3 separate regions of the Homo sapiens genome follow, and regions 1 and 3 are each linked to region 2. Evidence: promoter capture Hi-C in human tissues and cell types (Jung and others, 2019). All regions are on one chromosome and are shown on one strand. The core of a region is centred on a gene start or on the middle of the fragment in contact, and the rest is flanking DNA. Distances in the headings are between cores, read along the strand shown.

What was found. Contacts are between HindIII fragments. The study calls those that stand out against the background at their distance.
Region 1: a contact is called between a fragment that was not itself captured here and the fragment with the promoter of F2 in region 2, in 4 of the 25 tissues and cell types used here (dorsolateral prefrontal cortex, mesenchymal stem cells, mesendoderm cells and 1 more).
Region 3: a fragment that was not itself captured here is called in contact with the fragment with the promoter of F2 in region 2 in 2 of the 25 tissues and cell types used here (bladder and dorsolateral prefrontal cortex).

What each region holds. Positions count from the first base shown.
Region 1 is chr11:46,515,843-46,520,122 of GRCh38, forward strand. The region is part of intron 7 of AMBRA1 (autophagy and beclin 1 regulator 1); the gene reads right to left. Among named protein-coding and RNA genes, the nearest start is that of MIR3160-1, 66 kb to the left of the region's middle. The HindIII fragment of the contact is 3,250 bases long and covers 1-2,972 here.
Region 2 is chr11:46,716,599-46,720,599 of GRCh38, forward strand. It overlaps F2 (coagulation factor II, thrombin), which reads left to right and starts at 2,615. Exons shown (of 14, transcript NM_000506.5): 1 at 2,615-2,716; 2 at 3,104-3,264; 3 at 3,925-3,949. The coding sequence starts at 2,638. The HindIII fragment of the contact is 9,646 bases long and covers 1-4,001 here.
Region 3 is chr11:46,462,388-46,466,576 of GRCh38, forward strand. All of the region lies in intron 11 of AMBRA1 (autophagy and beclin 1 regulator 1), which reads right to left. Among named protein-coding and RNA genes, the nearest start is that of MIR3160-1, 13 kb to the left of the region's middle. The HindIII fragment of the contact is 5,711 bases long and covers 1-4,189 here.

The DNA of each region.
Region 1 (4,280 bases), core at 98-2,597, 200 kb before region 2:
TTTTTGTACTTTTAGTAGAGATGGGGTTTCACCATGTTGGTCAGGCTGGTCTCAAACTCCTGACCTTCTGATCCGCCCGCTTTGGCCTCCCAAAGTGCTGGGATTACAGGTGTGAGCCACTGTGCTGGCCTTAATGACTCCATTTTACAATCCTAAAAGTCTATTTCCCACCTTAACTTCCTACCTTAATTAGGAAGACTTCTTTAAGTTGGAATAGACCCAAAATATGAAGCTTTGTTGCTGGAGAGTCTCTGATGAGGTTCTTTTGGAACACGCATCCCCTGTGCCTACTTACTACGGAATGTGTTGGCAACATTTGCTGCCCAGACAATATAGTGGAACTGGCAAGCCACATATATATGTCACTTTACTGCTAATGCACAAAAGCAGGAAAGCCAATCACCATGAATACACATATACACTGATGAAACATCAGTTCTTCATAGTTACAATACGAGTACTATCTGGAGTAAAAATAGGCTTCTCCAATTGGTGTGGAATAAAGAACTAGAGTTACTAGATGAGTAAACATCCTAGGAATGTTTACCACCATTGCTAGGAACCTCAAAGAAAGATCTTTCTTTTTTTTTTTTTTTTTTTTTTTTTGAGACGGTGTCTCGCTCTGTTGCCCAGGCTGGAGTGCAGTGGCACGATCTCGGCTCACTGCAAGCTCCGCCTCCTGGGTTCGAGCCATTCTCCTGCCTCAGCCTCCCAAGTAGCTGGGACTACAGGCACCTGCCACCATGCCTGGCTAATTTCTTTTTGTATTTTTAGTAGAGACAGGGTTTCACCGTGTTAGCCAGGATGGTCTTGATCTCCTGACCTCATGATCCGCCCACCTCGGCCTCCCAAAGTGCTGGGATTACAGGCGTGACCCACTGCGCCCGGCCAAAAGATCTTTCTTTCCCAGTGTTAGCCTGTTACAGACAGCTGTCAACGGGAAATGGTAGGAGAAAATTGAATGCGATGGCAGTTCTGCACATTCTGCTGTGACCACCACAAACTTGACTTGACTTAATCTATCACAAGAAATCAGGGAGGGCCTAGGAAGGGCTCAGACAAGCTTGTTCAGGTTCGAAGCTGCTATCACTGAAGCTGAAGAAAAAAAAAATACAAAAACACAATACAACCAAACAAAATACTTCCTTGTTTTCTCTACTTGCCTGGTTCATTTTATACACCACTGGTGTCCAAGTGAGGTATACGAGGGGTTGTGCTATTTGATCCATTGGACAGCAAGGGGGAAATATTACAACTTCTGCTATATAATATATAATCATAACACACATGGATTACTCAAAAGCTTTTTTTTTTTTTTTTTTTGAGATGGAGTTTCCCTCTTTTGCCCAGGCTGGAGTGCAATGGTGCAATCTCGGCTCACTGCAACCTCCGCCTCCCGGGTTCAAGTGATTCTCTTGCCTCAGCCTCCCAAGTAGCTGGGATTACAGGCGTCCACCACCACACCCAGCTGATTTTTGTATTTTTAGTAAAAACAGGGTTGCACCATGTTGGCTGGAGCTGGTCTCAATCTTCTGACCTCAGGTGATCCACCCGCCTCGGCCTCCCAAAGTGCTAGGATTACAGGCGTAAGCCACCGCGCCCGGCTAGAAAGCATTTTATTAATAAGGTTTTTTTTTTTTTTTTTTTTTTTTTTTAAGTCTGAAGGCCACTGCTCTATCAAACTATATATTACTTTAACAATACTAAACAGGCCGGGTGCAGTGGCTCACGCCTGTAATCCCAGCACTTTGGGAGGCTGAGGCAGGTGGATCACGAGGTCAGGAGATCGAGACCATCCTGGCTAACATGGTGAAACCATGTCTCTACTAAAAATACAAAAAATTAGCCGGGCCTGGTGGCACACGCCTGTCCCAGCTACTTGGGAGGCTGAGGCAGGAGAATCGCTTGAACCCGGGAGGCAGAGGTTGCAGTGAGCCAAGATCGCGCCACTGCACTCCAGCCTGGGCAACAGGGACAGACTCTGTCTCAAAAAAAAAAAAAAAAAAATGCCAAATACTTAAAGAATAGGATAAGCTTAAATATAAAAAACTATAAGCATATAAAAGTATACCCATATTCGTATATATATAGAGAGAGAGAGAACAAAAGAAGATAATAAAGCCAATGTGGCAAAATGTTAACATTTAGGGAATGTGGGTAAAGGGTATATGGGAATCCTCTATACGTTTTCTGCAAGTTTGAAATTATTTCAAAATGAAAAACAAAAACATACAACACACAAAAATCTTAAAGTAAAATACTGAAAAGAAAGAGATAGCCATTTGTTTTCAGAAGAATTACTCACGGCCAGGCGCGGTGGCTCACGCCTGTAATCCCAGCACTTTGGGAGGCCGAGGTGGGCAGATCACCTGAGGTCAGGAGTTCGAGACCAGCCTGGCTAACATGGTGAAACTCCATCTCTACTAAAAATGCAAAAATTAGCCGGGCGTGGTGGTGGGCTCCCGTAGTCCCAGCTACTTGGGAAGCTGAGGCAGGAGAATGGCATGAACCTGGGAGGCGGAGCTTGCAGTGAGCCAAGATAGCGCCGCTGTACTCCAGCCTAGGTGACAGAGCAAGACTCCGTCTCAAAAAAAAAAAAAAAAAAAAAAAAAGAATTACTCACTTTGTAAAAAGATTTCTTAGAATAGCAACTTGCCCTAATGCTCTACAGCAGGTTTGGTAAACTACAGGCCCCAGGTCAGCTGTCTTCTTTTGTAAATAAGTGGCTACTTTGGAGCTGGCAAGGCAGAACTGAGGAATCCTGATAGAGACAAAGCCTAAAATACCTACTGCCTAGCCCTTTACAGAAGATGTTCGCCCATTTCTGCTCTAAAACATTTGCTTACATAGAATTCTTTAAATTACTAAGGGACAGAACAAAAAAGAACTTGAAATTAAAGTATTGTGCACTGGAAAAAAAACATCAAAAATGAATATTAAGCTCTGCTAAAATCATAATAGGCATATAATTCAAACTGTGAAATCCTGAACATTTTTAAAAGAATACAACTATTTTTTCTTTCCCTGATTAATATTCTGAGTTATGTGCAAAGAAGTTCCCTGTATCAGCTGTATTCTTGATCACTAGGAATACAATTTTTAAAATAGTCAAAGAAAGCTCTGGAAAAGAAAAAAAGTGGTCGGAGCAGATCAACTGAAAGAAAAGAACCTTCACTTCATTATTTTATTTTATTTCATTTTTTGAGACAGAGTTTCTGTCACCCAGGCTGGAGTACAGTGGCGCGATCTTGGCTAACTGCAACTTCTGCTTCCTGTGCTTAAGCAATTCTCTTGCCTCAGCCTCCCGAGTAGCTGGGGCTACAGGCATGCACCACCAAGCCTGGCTAATTTTTGTATTTTTAGTAGAGACGGGATTTCACCATGTTGTCCAGGCTGGTCTTGATCTCCTGGCCTCATATAATCCACCCACTTTGGCCTCCCAACATGCTGGGATTACAGGCATGCGCCACCATGCCCGGCCCCTTCACTTCAAATTCAATAGATATCAGAGTTGAGGTGCAGAAAGTCTGGGTACTAGTCCATATGGAATAAACAAACCGTGGACAACTCCTCCTTACTAAAAAATTATAACCTGAAGATACTCTTTTAACTGGTTGTCAGATCACAGAGAAAAATCAATATCCTAAAGCAAACAAACATGTTTGGACTTTCTCCAACCACTGGAAACAATCAATTGCTAGAACTCTCTGGCCTCTACTGTTAGGGAATGCTGGCTCCCAGAAGGTAAGGTGCCACTGGTGCCCCATGCCTAATGAATAACTTTACAGCCTAGCTTTGATGTCTGGATGGCAACCGCTATTTCCATCCGGGAGCACCAAACCCAAATTAACAGCTTCCTTCTGCCTAGGAAATAAAATCCAGATTCCTCAGCAGGGCATTTGGTATTCAAGCTTTGCAGCCAAATTTCTCATTCCTTTTGGATATACTATATGCTCTAGTCCAGTGGTTTACAAACTTTTTGCTCCCAGGACTCCTTTAACACTCTTAAAAATTATGAGGATCCCGGTGGCTCACGCCTGTAATCCCAGCACTTTGGGAGGCCAAGGTGGGCGGATCACCTGAGGTTGGGAGTTCAAGACCTGCCTGACCAACATGGAGAAACCCCGTCTCTACTAAAAATAAAAAATTAGCCAGGCATGGTGGCGCATGCCTGTAATCCCAGCTACTCAGGTGGCTGAGGCAGGAGAATCGCTTGAACCCAGGAGGCAGAGGTTGCAGTGACCCAAGATGGCGCCATTGCACTCCAGCCTGGGCAACAA
Region 2 (4,001 bases), core at 1,365-3,864:
CAGGCTGGTCTCGAACTCCTCACCTTGTGATCGGCCCGCCTCGGCCTCCCAAAGTATTGGGATTACAGGCGTGAGCCACTGCACCTGGCCTACAGTAATTTTATAGCAGCCCAGGCTAAGATAGCCATTTCTGGGTATAAGAATGTCATATACTGAACAGGCCTGCAACTGTGAGTAAAAGTCTGCAAAGAGGCCGGGCAGTGGCTCATACCTGTAATCCCAGCACTTTGGGGGGCCGAGGCAGGTGGATCACCTGAGGTCAGCAGTTCGAGACCAGCCTGACCAACATGGTGAAACCCCATCTCTACTAAAAATACAAAATTAGCTGGGCGTGGTAGTGCATGCTTGTAATCCCTAGCATGCACTTGGGAGCTACTTGGGAGGCTGAGGCAGGAGAATCACTTGTACTCAGGAGGCCGAGGTTGCAGTGAGCTGAGATCACGCCACTGCACTCCTTTCTGGGTGACAGAGTGAGACTCCATCTCAAAAAAACAAAACAAAACAAAACAAAAACAAACAAAAAAACCCAACAGGTAGGTAGCAGTGGTTCACGCCTGTAATCCCCACTTTGGGAGGCTAAAGTGGGCAGATCACCTGAGGTCAGGAGTTCACGTCCAGCCTGGGCAACATGGTGAAACTCTGTCTCTACAAAAATACAAAAATTAGCCAGGCATGATGGCGGGTGCCTGTAGTTCCAGCTATTCGGGAGGCTGAGGCAGGAGAATCGCTTGAACCTAGGAGGTAGAGGTTGCAGTGAGCCGAGTTCACGCTATTGCACTCCAGCCTCCATCTCAAAAACAAAACAACAAAAACCCAAAATATATATTATAATTTTATTTTATTTATTCAATTTTATTTTATTTTATTTTATTTTTCTAGGAACAGGTCTCATTCAGGCCAGGCATGGTGGCTCACGCCTGTAATCCCAGCACTTGGGAGGCCGAGGTGGAGGTGGGCGGATCACCTGAGGTCAGGAGTTCGAGACCATCCTGGTCAATGTGGCGAAACCCCATCTCTACTAAAAATACAAAAATTAGCCAGGTGTGGTGGCACACGCCTGTAATTCCAGCTACTTGGGATACTGAGTCAGGAGAATCACTTGAACAGGGAGATGGAAATTGCAGTGAGCCGAGATTGTTCCACTGCACTCCAGCCTGGGTGACAGGGCGAGACTCCGTCTCAAAAAAAAAAAAAAAAAAGAAAGAAAGAAAGAAAGAAAGAAACAGGATCTTACTCTGTTACCCAGGCTGGAGTACAGTGGTGCAATCATAGCTCACTGCAGCCTGGAACTCCTGGGCTCAAGTGATCCTCCTGCCTCAGCCTCCTCAGTAGCTCAGACTGCAGGCATGCACCACCATTCCCAGCTAATTTTTAATTTTTTTTTGGTAGAGATGAGGGTCTTGCTATGTTGCCCAGGCTGGTCTCAAACTCCTGGCCTCAAGCGATCCTGCCATGTCGGCCTCCCAAAGTGTTGGGATTACAAGTGTGAGCCACTATGCCTGGCCTAAAAATATATATATGAAAATATATAAGAAATGGGCCTCCCAGGAATTAAGGTGTTTGCGGGAGTCCTGGTCCCCAGTTTTTCTGCCAACACTCCCTGTTCCCACACATGACCTGGTCCAGACCCCAAACAGCCAGGCCCAAAGGACAGGTGAGGCGAGGCGAGAACTTGTGCCTCCCCGTGTTCCTGCTCTTTGTCCCTCTGTCCTACTTAGACTAATATTTGCCTTGGGTACTGCAAACAGGAAATGGGGGAGGGACAGGAGTAGGGCGGAGGGTAGGGTAGGACCAGAAGCCTCTCTAGGCCTGCCATGGGGCAGGCAGCCAGGGAGAAGGAGGGCCCCTCAGTGGAGACCCAGGGATTTCAGTAGCCCCTGTTCCGGGACAGGCGCAGGTCCTGGGAGGTGACAGAAGATAGACTAAAGGCCCAAGAGTCCCTGGACCTGACTCCTCCCAGGCAGCTGCCACACACAAACACACCTCCAGGCACCCTGGACAGGAAGGAGGAGAAATGGGCCCCTCCTCCAGTGGCTGAGAAGCTGGGGCAAATGTTGGCTGTTCCTATCCCTGGTGCATCCCATGGCGAGGGGCAACTTCCATCAGGCCACACCTTTTATCTTTGTCTCTATTTTTGATATCTGTGTATTATGATTATACAAACCCCCACATTGGCCTATATGTGCAGATCTGATTAAGAACTTACGATATTCCATGGACATTCCATTCCTAATCTCCTTTAGTCCTCACAACAAAGTATTATTCCCATTGTATAGATGAGGAAACTGAGGCACACAGAGATGACAAGCAACCACCGCTATATGTTAGGATTCGAAGGAGCTCCAGGAAAGTCTCATAGCCCCACTGGCCAGAATGGGCTAAATCTCAGAGGGGGAGGGTGGGAGATGGGGGTGACAGTGACCTTTTTTGTGACTCCTCCTAGACCATCCATCCCTGCTCCCAGGAGGACCTGTCCTCCCAGATGGTGGAGATGGACAGGAGGACTATCTACCCACCCGTCCCCACGGCCCTGACCCTCTGACCTCACCCTCTCCGCTGATTTCTTCATGTTAGTTCAACATTAACCCAGAGGGGTCAGGACAGACAATTCCTCAGTGACCCAGGAGCTGACACACTATGGCGCACGTCCGAGGCTTGCAGCTGCCTGGCTGCCTGGCCCTGGCTGCCCTGTGTAGCCTTGTGCACAGCCAGCATGGTAAGGGAGTGCTTGCAGGCTGGAACAGGCTGGAGGACTGGGGTGTGGGCCCATGGGCTGGGGTCTCCTGGCTGGACAGAGCACACAGAGCTGGCCCCTAAGTAGGTCTCAGCCCCAGGCGGCCAGCTTAGGGAAGAAGTCAGGAGCTCAGGGCTGGAAAGAGAATGGCTGCTTCTCTCTTCCAATATAGGGAGCAGGCTGGGGGCAAGGGGCAGTGTAGGAGGGGCACAGGGGGCCACATTTAGCAGCCTTCCAGGCACTTCCACCAGCCCAGACAGCCTCTCTCAGAAGCCAGCAGGGGAGGGTGGGCTTGCTTCATGCCCCCAGAATGGCCAAGACTGCCTGTTCCTGAGGCCGCTGTCCCATGACCCCCCCACCGCCTTACAGTGTTCCTGGCTCCTCAGCAAGCACGGTCGCTGCTCCAGCGGGTCCGGCGAGCCAACACCTTCTTGGAGGAGGTGCGCAAGGGCAACCTGGAGCGAGAGTGCGTGGAGGAGACGTGCAGCTACGAGGAGGCCTTCGAGGCTCTGGAGTCCTCCACGGCTACGGTGAGCCTGGGCTGCTCGGACGGTGCCGGGGCCTCAGACCGGGCCCAACTCTAGACACTTCCACAGAGAAGCAAGCGAGGAACGCCACAGCCCCTTCGCTGCTCACAGCCTCATTTCAACTCTGAGCCCCTCCTCACAGGGCTGGCAAGAGGAGCGGCCTCAGCCTTTCCTGGGGGTCTCTGTGCCTGGACTGTGTCCCTGTGCAGCTCCATGACATGGGGAGGCCTCCACAGTCTTCAGACATCCACCTGCCCTGGAGCTCTGTGTCCACATGGCCTCCTCAGCGGCAGACTCCCACACCACCCTTGAGGGGTGGGACTCTGGGGAGGCCACCACAAGCCCCCGGGCTCAAGACTCAGTGTTCCTGGAGCTCTGTGTCGCCTTTCCTGTCTGTAGGGCTCTGCCAGGGTCCCACTGCCCCCTCTCCTCCCATCTCCCCCAGCCTCTTTCAGTCTCGGTGTGTGTGTTGGAGGAACTCCCCTATCCTCAAATATTCTTCTCCTTTTGGAAACAAAAGTAGGAAACTCTGCCACAAACCTCCCCAGAGCCTGCCCCCTGCGTGACCAGGGTAAAGGAAAGTGTGAGGAGGAGACATAACATTTACTAAAACAACACAAAACAGGAGCTGCCGTAGCCTCACTCCCAGCCCTTGTTTTTCAGGATGTGTTCTGGGCCAAGTACACAGGTGAGCACCGGGAAGGATTTGCCCCAGGAAGGGAGGCCTGGGGACCCCAGTG
Region 3 (4,189 bases), core at 1,602-4,101, 250 kb before region 2:
TCTTCCTCTTTACTCTCCTCACGTCTGTCTTCAATGCCAGATTGTTTTTAAAGCAGATTTTTGATTGTCACTTACCTGCTCTAAAGCTTTAGTGGCTCCTCACTGACTACACTGAGGTAGACTCGTTGGTCTTCAAGGCCCTCCTCGATCTGGACCTGTCTGTCATCTACCCCTCTGGGCTTGTCTCCCACTGCTCTCCAGACCCATCACTTTGTACATGTGTTTTAAACACATCCCTACATTTAAACCTTCTGCTCATACTGCCCCCACTATCTAGACTCCCTCCTCCCTGCCCTAGTCAATGTTTACTAAAATCCCCTTCATCCCTCATCTCCCCATTCAAGTACTTTCTCAAATAATTCACCCCCCTCCTTTTTTTTTTGAGACAGGGTATCACTCTGTCACCCAGGCTAAAGTGCAGTGGTGCGATCCCAGCTCACTGCAACCTCCGCCTCCCAGGTTCAAGCGATTCTCCTTGCTTCAAAACTCCCAAGTAGCTGGGATTACAGGCGTGCACCACCATGTCTGGCTAATTTTTGTATTTTTAGTAGAGACGGGGTTTCACCATATTGGCCAGGCTGGTCTCAAACTCCTGGCCTCAAGTGATCCACCTACCTTGGCCTTTCAAAGTGCTGGGATTACAGGCGTGAGCCACCACGTCTGGCCAATAATCCCCTTTTCTAAGAAGTCTTTTCTAATCTCACTAACCTGATTATGATCTCCTCTTCAGAAGCCCCATGGCACTTTGTTTCTCTCTTATTCTGTTACAGTTCTTCTGCTCAATTTCCTGCCCTCTGCAGGATGCTCTACCATTATTCACTCCACTTGAGGATGAGTTTAAAATTCAGCCCACCAGGGGCCAACTCAAAATCTACAAGCCAAGTATACCTGTTCTATTCCCACTCAACACTTTCCCTGAATCTGAATCCCCATAGTACATTATTAGTAGGTGCCTCTGATAGCAAGAACACACACAGTTTCTTCATCTTTATATAAAATATATAGATGCTCTGCTGTAGAAGGTATGCAGTAACTCCATATTAATTAAAGAAACAAAGGGCCACTTGAATATATCTGACTTGGACTATTCGACTGTCAGCTCCTTAAGAGTAGGGACTACCTTAAATCCCTCTGAGAGACTTAAGTACCTCCGAATCCTTGCACTTAACTAAAGAGTACCTTGCACAAAAGCACAGAATTACAACTCAATTTGTTAACTAGGACTCAAAGTATCTTTGGCTTTGAGAAGATACCCACTCAATCGTCAGAATGGCACTTCCAAAATTCCTAAAAATCTTTTGTCTGATTTCTGCAACTCCAGGAAAGCACCCAACTTCTGGAAGTCTACATAGCACAGTACTCGGGGCCCTAAGAAATTGATGGTTTCATGCAGGGGAAATATAACTGCAGCCAAAACAAAGCCGGGGTGGGCGGGCTTCCCTCTGCAAGTTGGTAAAACGTAACAAAAAAATTCCTGCTCTGGCCTGTGGAAGATCCAAGTGGGTGCAGGCCTTCTCCTTTGTTAGCCTCTGCAAGGCTCTTGCCTTGGGGCCAACAGGATTAGCACAGCCATTTCATGCTCTGAAAAGTCAGAAAAGGAGAGATAGGGAGCTTTTCACTCTAGGAAATGCCTAGTAGTCAGAGACAGTTTTTGTTTCTGTTCAAAAGATAAGTGGGGATGCTGAGGTTAAAAAGCAAAAATTCCAACAATGGTTAATGAAAGGTTTGGAAACAATATACAGAATTAGGCAATGGGATAAACTCCAAGAAGAGAAGAGCAGGTGCCAGAGAATCAGCACTAGATGTTTTCATGCATTCAAAAATTTCCATGTATTTAAAATGTCATCAGGACGCCCTGTGAGCAGACTTGATGCAGCAATTAGAGAATGCAGGCTTATCCCTCTTGGCACAAAATACCCACAAATAAGCTCCTAGTATAAAAGTCAAAACAAAGTAGAAAGAAAAGCTTTACCAAAAAAGTTGAGCAGTTGCTGCATTTCCCTGGATTTAATAATTCACTATGCACCTTCCTGAGATGGTCTAAACTAAACTCAAATACTGTATTCAAAGGCACAGAGCTCCCAGGACCCAATTTGGGTTTTGTACCTTGGGTCTACAGATAGGCTTCAGGTGGTTCAAGAAACCCCTGAAATAGCAAATAAAATTGTGCATGTGTTCATGAGTGTGTTATTACATTAATATTTTTAATTTTCTATATTTTATGATGCTTTGACATCTTAGGGGCTTTGCAGATAAGCAACTGTACCTCCCAGGGTTAGTTACTTCCTGGAGATTGCAAACAACTTGCCTTTGATATGCAAACCAACCAATCCAGAGTCCATACCCTAACTACCTCCTTTATTAAACACCGAGACAAGGCCGGGCGCAGTGGCTCACACCTGTAATCCAAGCACTTTGCGAGGCCAAGGCAGTCGGATCACGAGGTCAAGAGTTTGAGACCATCCTGGCCAACAGGGTGAAACCCCGTCTCTACTAAAAATACAAAAATTAGCCAGGCATGGTGGTGGGTGCCTGTAATCCCAGCTACTCAGGAGTCTGAGGCAGGAGAATCACTTGAACCGGGAGGTGGAGGTTGCAGTGAGCTGCGATCGCGCCACCGCACTCCAGCCTGGCGACACAGTGAGATTCCCTCTCAAAAAATAAAAATAAAAAATAAAAAAAAATAAACACCAAGACAATATTCCCCAGCCCTAAATCACCCCAGGGCCAAGTATGGACAACTAGTGCCCACACCTACAGCCCAGACCCTGCCAAAATTATTCAAACCGATCCAATCCTAAACTTACTTAGCCTCACCCATCCCTTCCCCTAGAAACCCCAATAAAGGCTCATGCTCCTCCCTGCCCTCCTTCTGCCTCCTGACTCCCTGGTACTTCCCCATGTGGCCTTGTGTTGTGTGGCATGGCACACGCTCATCTCTTGGGAACTGTAAGGAACAAACTATCCTTTCAACGGCAATCATCTCTTCATCTTTTGTCCTTACCATATTGGAATAAAAACAAAATCCTGGGCACACGTTACTACAGTTATGTGTAGGTGTTTTTTTCTTAGTGTAGGGTCTAAGTTTTTACCATATTTTCTCAGAGAGTTCACTGTTCTCTAAAGATTAAAAACTAGTGACCTAAATATTTCAGGTAACTTTGGGGCTCAACAGGCTAAGATATATCACAGAGGAAGCCTCTCTAGGGAACATGCAAAGCCAGGTGGTTAGAGAGTGCAAAGAGAAAAAGTGGAGACTGCATAGGGCTTTATTTACTTTTGGTTTTTCCTGGCTCTTTGCAGTGTAAGGGATCATCAGTGTAAGGAGGTAGAAAGGAAAAAGGTTCATCCATCCCCAAAATAGTGATGCTCATGATAAATTAGCACTTCTCATAAGTAACACAGAACTTCTGAAATGTATACATACAATCTTGCTTAAACATTCACAGAAATTGTGCAACTGTCCATGCTATATTCTATAAAAAACAACTAGCATGCTGTGCCAACCAGCGACAGTATCAGCAGCAAACAGATAAAGCCTTGGCCTTCAACCTCACTAAGGCTGACAAAGATACACAGATTTGGGATCTAGACTAAAGTACAGAGTCTTGAGACATGCCTAGAATAAAGAATAGTGATCTCAAAACAGAAAGCTTTTTGATGGCTGAGTGAGAACTGAATATTAAACAGGTATTTATCAAATAGCACTGTGGAAGATGTACATAAAATGGTAGTAAGATGTACTTCTTGCTTGTTTGGAGCCTACAATCCAGTTGGGAAGATAGGACTTCCATCAAAAGCATTATAAATGAGGCCAGGCGTGCTGGCACACGCCTGTAGTCCCAGCTACTTGGGAGGCTAAGGCAGGAGAATCACTTGAACCCAGGAGGCGGAGGTTGCAGTGAGCCGAGATCGTGCCACTGCACTCTAGCCTGGGCAACAGAGCAAGACTCTGTCTAAAAAAAAAAAAAAGGGCAATGTGAGTATCTAACGAGGAGACCAACCACAGCCACAGCCATTTAGGAAGGGGCCACTGGGCACCAATGGCTACCTGAGAAGGAGCAGGAAATTTACAGAGTACAGAGGAACTAGGGCTTGAAGCATGTGGAAAGGAGAATGGTTCAGGATAGAAAGAGGTTACTGCTCAAAGTGGATTCAGGGGTCAAGAGCTAATACCAGTTCAGTGGGA